Regions from separate parts of the Homo sapiens genome. Here region 2 is linked to region 1. Evidence: promoter capture Hi-C in human tissues and cell types (Jung and others, 2019). All regions are on one chromosome and are shown on one strand. Each heading gives the region's core, a stretch centred on a gene start or on the middle of the fragment in contact. The rest is flanking DNA. Distances are from core to core; before and after follow the strand shown. Region 1 holds the start of CAPN5 (calpain 5). Region 2 has its middle 26 kb from the start of TSKU.

Region 1 (3,290 bases), core at 129-2,628:
GCCTGTCTTGTCAGAAGAGAGGCTCCTCAGGGCAAAGACCCCGCCTGAGCACCTCTGTGTGCTGGCAACTAGCCTGACCTGGCCTGCAGCAGCAGCTGGGCCCACCATACCCTGCCCAGGAGGCAAAGGCAGCCACACCACCCCACCCCCAGACCCTGGGGACAGGAGCAAGGACCAGCCCGAGGACCCTGGGAGGTGTCAATCCTTGCAAAACACAGTGGTTCCCCCAGCAGGCCTCAGACTCATTGAGTTGGCTGAGCCTCACCCGTAAGCCCCTCTCTTCCAAGAAGTCTGCCCAGATCTCTCTTTCCCCTGAGTCCTGGGATAGTCGCCCTCAGTACTTTTCTCTCTAAACCACAGGTGTAGGGAGAAGATTCTGGGATGAGAGCCAGGCGGACCCGGGTTCAAATTCTGGCTCAGCAATCCTGAGAGGGCAGCTGACTTCGCTTCTCTGTGCCCCACTCTTCTGATCTGTATGGAACTTGGGGGTGAATCCCACCACATGAAATGACTGGGAGAGAGAACGTCGCACCTGTTAATGATCTTTTGTCCTATTTCGCCTCTGGTCCCCTAGGCCAGTCTTCCGAGACCCCCAACGCAAAGGAACAGAGGTGGGAACTCTGAGGTCTGAGAAACAAAGATCCATTCCCTCCCAGACCACTCCCCCACACTCCCGCAACACACACACACACACACACACACACACACACACACACGTGCGCCCGCCCTGCAGTCAAGGAGAAAAGCCCCCTTTCAACCTGGGGAGTAGTGCCAAGAAGCGGATAGGCTGGGGCAGTAGGAGCCTCGGCCCTGCCCCTTCCCCAGGCCTGGGTGGTGGAGCACCCAGAAGGGGTTGGTGGATTGCAGGGATGAAAGGGGGGTTAAGCAGGGAAGAGAAGGGGGGAACTGTAAGGAAGATGAGAGGAAGTGACAGTCTAGCCCCGGGTGTTAGGCGCTTCCAGCGCGTCCGCACTAGGAAAACGACTCGGAGACACCCAGAGGGAGGTGAAAAAAAGACTCCTCGCCGGGGGTGGGGGTGGGGACGAGCCGAGGGGGCCCAGGCGGATGCTCCAGGACCCCGCCCCCCAGCCAGCGCTCACTTCCTTTCCCCCCGGGCCCGCGGGAGGTGCAGCCCCCTCCACTGATTCGTGGTCCCGGAGCAATCACTGGCCCGCGCTGCACCCGCACACACCCCCCCGAAACACACACACACACACACACAGAAGCACACGCCTCCCTCCGCCCGCCTCCTACCGGCCGAGCCGCCGCGGGTCCAGCCGGGCTCCCGGGATGCAGGGCACGGCGCGGGCGCTGGAGCGGAGGCTGCAGCCGCCCGGCGCAGCAGCCTCGGGCTCTGGCCGGAGATCCAGCTGGGACTGGCCTGCGGCGGGGGCTGGCGCTCGCATTCCCCGGGTTCGGCCAGCTGGGCCCGGCTCCGCCCCGCCCCGCCCGCGGCCTCCGCCCATTTGCCCGTTGCGAGCCGGAGGCGTGGTCTCCCGTGGGGCGGGGTGGGCGGCCCGGTGGCCGGGTGCGCCCATGCGCACTGGTGCGGTGGGCGGCCGCTCAGAGGAGCGGTCTCATTCCAGCCCCTGTGTTGAACGCGGACTTGGGGCCCCTAGCGGCACCCACCGCCTCTACCGGCTCGGTCGGGCCCTCGTTCTCTCTCCTTCCCAGCCTATCTGTCTGCGGTTGGTGCGCATCCCCATGGGCAGCCTCCCAAGGGCTGGCTGCACCGTGAGGGATCGGGCCGGGGCTGGGGTTCAGCCCCCACAGGGCGGGCCGGGGCCGCGGCTGACTTGGGGCCGGCGTGTAGTACCGAGGACCCGCAAGGGCCAGGGTGCCTGCCAGAACCAGGACTTGGTGGGCGGCGCCCCTCCCTTTCCGGGCTCCACCTTCACATCCATCCCAAGTGTTCGGATGGAGAAGTGGGAGCCCAGGCCCCTGTGAGCAGCAGAGGGCCTCTGTCAGATGGGAAAACTGACCCCGGCCCGTGTTGAGGACTTAATCCCGTGCTGCCATGGGCTCCCGGGCTCGGGCTCATGTTTGACTCTCTGTCCGTGACTGGCTACCGGAATGCCCTGGGATGGCACGGAGCCTGCATTTCCTGATCTGTAAAACGGGGACTATAATCTCTACCCACCCCAGGCCGCTTGGGGAATCCGATAGAGAAGGTTTAGGAGTGACTAGTTCTTGCCTACAGTAGGAGCTCAGGGGTGCCACCACCCCCCGCCCTGAGGCAGCAGGACAGACGCCCATCTGATCTGATGAGCCCATCGGCCCACTCGCTGGTGGAGCGTCTCAGGCCCGTTCATTCTCCGCCTCCAATTTGTTTCGAAGTCTCAGTTAATGATTTCGTCAACCTCTTGTGTTACCGAAACAAACTTGGGTCCGCCCACCCAGTGCAGCAAAGCCAAACACTGACACCAGGATTTGCAGCGGCAGAAAGGGAGGCATTTATTGCAGGGTGCCAAGCAAGGAGAATAGGTCGGCTAATGCTTAAGACCCGTACTCCCCAATGGTTTACATGTAAGGCTTTTTAAAGGTGGGGAGACAGAGGTTATAGGCAAAGTCATAAATAAATACTCTGGAGCTATACATTGGCTTGGCCCAAAAAGGTGAGACATTTTGAGGCAGGGTCATAGGTGGATTCAGAGATTCTGTGATTTGCAATTGGCTTAGGAAGCAAGACTGTCTAAAAACCTGGGGTCCACAGATAGGAGAGTTAAGCATTGGCTTATGGGTGTGACTCTTTACAGAACCCTTGGGAAGAAATTTAAAGAACAGCCCTCAGTTTCCCCTTATCTGAGGCCTAAGTGACAGCTGTGAAAAACAATTCAGGGACATAGGTCAAGATGTTATCTTTAGTTTCTATAGGGAACCAGACATCTTGTGGCTCTAACTTATTTGGGTGGCCCTTGTTTGAAGCTTCAATTACCTTCTTGCTTGTCAAGGTGCTCATTTACTTCTCAAAGCTAGCTAGCTGCCTGAAATTCCCCCTGAAAAGACTCATGATTTTCCTTTATTTCCACTAAGAGGAGTCTCTGCCTCACCTCACTCTCAGTCACCTGGACTTCTCTAGCTTCTCCCCAACCTCCCTGCCTCTGTCCCAGGCCACCCAGATGCTTCTCCCTTAAGAGTAGCCCCAGCCCCCTCAGGAGCCTCCTATCCAACCAAAGAAGACTTTCACATATGCAGCTGAGACCCGCCACCCATAGAAGAGTGTTCTAAGACTGCACCCCATCTGACTCCCCCATCTCCCCTAACCTTATTCCATGCCCTGTACTGGGAGC
Region 2 (3,053 bases), core at 295-2,794, 260 kb after region 1:
CGCCCCCTGCTGAGTGCCAATGAAATAATGACCCAATCCTAACTTGGGATGGATTAGACCTAACATGTAGCGGGCAGAGAAAGCCAAAGGACTGACACTAGCATCGCACCAGTACTGACCAGTCAAAACCGACACGGCGTCATGTCCTGGGATGTGCTCCCTGAACCCCAGCCTCAGGGAGCGGAGGAAGGAACCCCTCAGTGTGCCAGGCCCTGTGACGGGGGCTCCAGCTGATTACCTTGGTAACTCTTTCAGCAGGCTCTGAGCTTGTTAGAAATGGGTTGTAAACAGTGTTCATGTCCCACGCTTCTGTGACGCAGCTTGAACATGGTAGGAATGATTGAATTCAAGGTACCCCAGCTCTCTGCCACCCCAATTTGAGGAGCAAAATACCTTCCCTGCTGACCTACCTTTATGCCTGGGTGCCTCCACATAATCAATTTTTTTGTTTGTTTTTGAGACAGAGTCTCGTTCTGTTGCCCAGGCTGGAGTGCAGTGGCGCGATCTCGGCTTACTGCAAGCTCCGCCTCCCGGGTTCATGCCATTCTCCTGCCTCAGCCTCCCGAGTAGCTGGGACTACAGGCATCCACCACCACACCCGGCTAATTTTTTGTATTTTTAGTAGAGATGGGGTTTCACCGTGTTAGCCAGGATGGTCTTGATCTCCTGACCTTGTGATCTGCCCGCCTCAGCCTCCCAAAGTGCTGGGATTACAGGCGTGAGCCACCGCGCCCGGCCAATTTTTTTTATTTTTATTTTTTATTTTTTGAGATGGAGTCTCCCTCTGTCGCCCAGGCTGGAGTGCAGTGGTGTGATCTCAGCTCACTGCAGCCTCTCTCTGCCTCCTGGGTTCAAGCAATTCTCCTGCCTCAGTCTCCCAAATAGCTGGGATTACAGGCTTGCTATTTTTTTTTGTATTTTTTGTTCTTTTAGTAGAGATGGGGTTTCACCATGTTGGCCAGGCTGCTCTTGAATTCCCGATCTCAAGTGATCCACTGGCCTCGGTCTCCTAAAGTGCTGGGATTACAGGCATGAGCCACAGCACCTGGATGCATAGTCAAATACTTTTAGTTAAAGCTCTGAGGTCCGTGTTAAAAAGCCAAGAACTCAGGAGGGGAATATGCCATGCTCTCATCTGACGTGAGCAGTGGCCACGTGATGTTCTTGGTCTTACCCTGTGCTGAGCGGGCTCTGTGGGGATAGGGAGGAGGCCTGGACAGGAAGGTCAGAGGACCCAGGATTTAAACTGGCTGGGTGACCATGAGTGGGTTACCCAAGGAGGGGAAGAATGCAGACTTGAGCTCTTGGGAGCTTTCTCTGATGAGCTTTTGGATCCCAGGGCAGCTGTCCTTGGCCAAGAGAACAACCAAACAGTTGAGACAAGTCTCTGGTCTGGGCTGAAGCCTGCGTCAAAGTTGTTGGACTAGCACTCTGGGATTCCATTTCTGATTCTGTATGTCTAATCTTTTGCTTCCCATTCTCTGCATTGAGCAGTCTGTTTGTGGGCTCTGGAATCGACAGACTCGTTTTTAAAATGTAGAATCTGTCACTTATCGGCTATGGGACCTTGGGCAAATTACTTAACCTCCCTGAGCTTCCATTTTCTCCTCTGTAAAACAGCTTTATATATAGCGAGAATGAATAAGTCAATACACACAAAGTGTACATCTCAGCGCCTGGCACCGAATAACCTGTCATTTCATCGGCAAGTTTTATTTTTATTTTAAAACAGACCCAAATTCCTACATTTCTTCCTATCTCCACTGCTACCATCAAGTCACTCTCATCTCCTTCCTGGTTTATGGCAAGGACTTCCTAATGGATCTCTCTGCTTCTGCTCTGGCACTCACAGCCAGGGCAATCTTTGTAAAGTGTCCCCAGAGCCTGTGTCACCTCTGTCTAAAGGCCTCTAATTGGCTTCCTGCTGTGACTGGAGTAAAATCCGCAGCACTGACAGTGGTCTATCCAGCCAGCCTCGCTGCCCTCAATTCTCCCATCAAGCCCCGGCCAGCCTCGCGTCCTTCCTGAGTGTGCCAAGCTCACTCACTCCTTGAGGTCTTTGCACCGAGATTTCCTCCCTTGGAAAAGGTTCCTCAGGTCCCCGCAGGGTTGGCTTCCTCCCTTCTTTTAAGTCTCAGCTCAAACGTGAGAGTAGCACCCAACCGCGTTACCTCTGCCGGCACCCCCGTCACCTCTACTGTGCTCCAATTTGCCCTCTTTGTAGCATTCACCATCTCCTCACTTACTTAGATGCCCAGGCACCCATTTACTGTTGGCCCTCCCCGTAGATGACCACCTCCATGACAGCAGGGACCAAGGTGGTCTGTGGTCATGGCTCTTTCCCCAGTACTTGTCTTTGGGTCTGGACACAGGAGACCCTCTAAACTATTTATTGAATTTTATTTTACTTTTTAAAAAATATTTATTTATTTATTTTAGAGACAGGGTCTCACTATGTTGTCCGGGCTGGTCTCGAACTCCTGGACTAAAGCAATTCTCCCATCTCAGCCTCCAGAAGTTCTGGGATTACAGGCATGAGCCACCAGGCCCGGCCTGCTGAATAAACATTATTTTTTAAATTCTATAAAACACCAGGTTGAAAGTTCTTTTATCGGAGGGGAAGATGTGAAAGTGGAGTCCTTGGTGGCTGCTGAAAACCGCTGCTCATCAGACTTCTGCGTCTGAGCTTGCCCTTCGCTTTCCTCTTGTGGGGACCCCTCTAACCCCCGGCCTGTGTATAGAGCGACAAGCCCGGCACAGGGCAGGGAGAAAGGGAGCAATGGGCGGGCGGAGAAAGGAACGGGAGTGTCTAAGGCAGCGCCCTCTGGTGGGCACAAACTCCGTGACAAGTTGGAGACCTGCAACACACTCCGCCCGCAACTCCATTCTTGCAAGTTTTCACCTAGTTTGCCCCTCTTGTCAGATGGGAACTCAAGCTCGTGCCCTGCCTATGCAGTCACTTTTCACCTTGTATTGCAGTCATTCGACTCTCCCATGGGATGGAAAGCCACTGGGGCCAGGGCTGGCTCTAGTCCATCTCTGGATGCCCCATG

The links. Contacts are between HindIII fragments. The study calls those that stand out against the background at their distance.
Region 2: a contact is called between a fragment that was not itself captured here and the fragment with the promoter of CAPN5 in region 1, in 4 of the 25 tissues and cell types used here (bladder, dorsolateral prefrontal cortex, hippocampus and 1 more).

What each region holds. Positions count from the first base shown.
Region 1 is chr11:77,065,059-77,068,348 of GRCh38, reverse strand. CAPN5 (calpain 5) reads right to left here and starts at 1,378. Exons shown (of 13, transcript NM_004055.5): 1 at 1,255-1,378. RefSeq lists a silencer at 1,173-1,862 and an enhancer at 1,719-2,219. The HindIII fragment of the contact is 16,009 bases long and covers 1-3,290 here.
Region 2 is chr11:76,807,362-76,810,414 of GRCh38, reverse strand. No RefSeq gene overlaps it. Among named protein-coding and RNA genes, the nearest start is that of TSKU, 26 kb to the right of the region's middle. RefSeq lists enhancers at 2,871-2,920, 3,001-3,050. The HindIII fragment of the contact is 6,333 bases long and covers 1-3,053 here.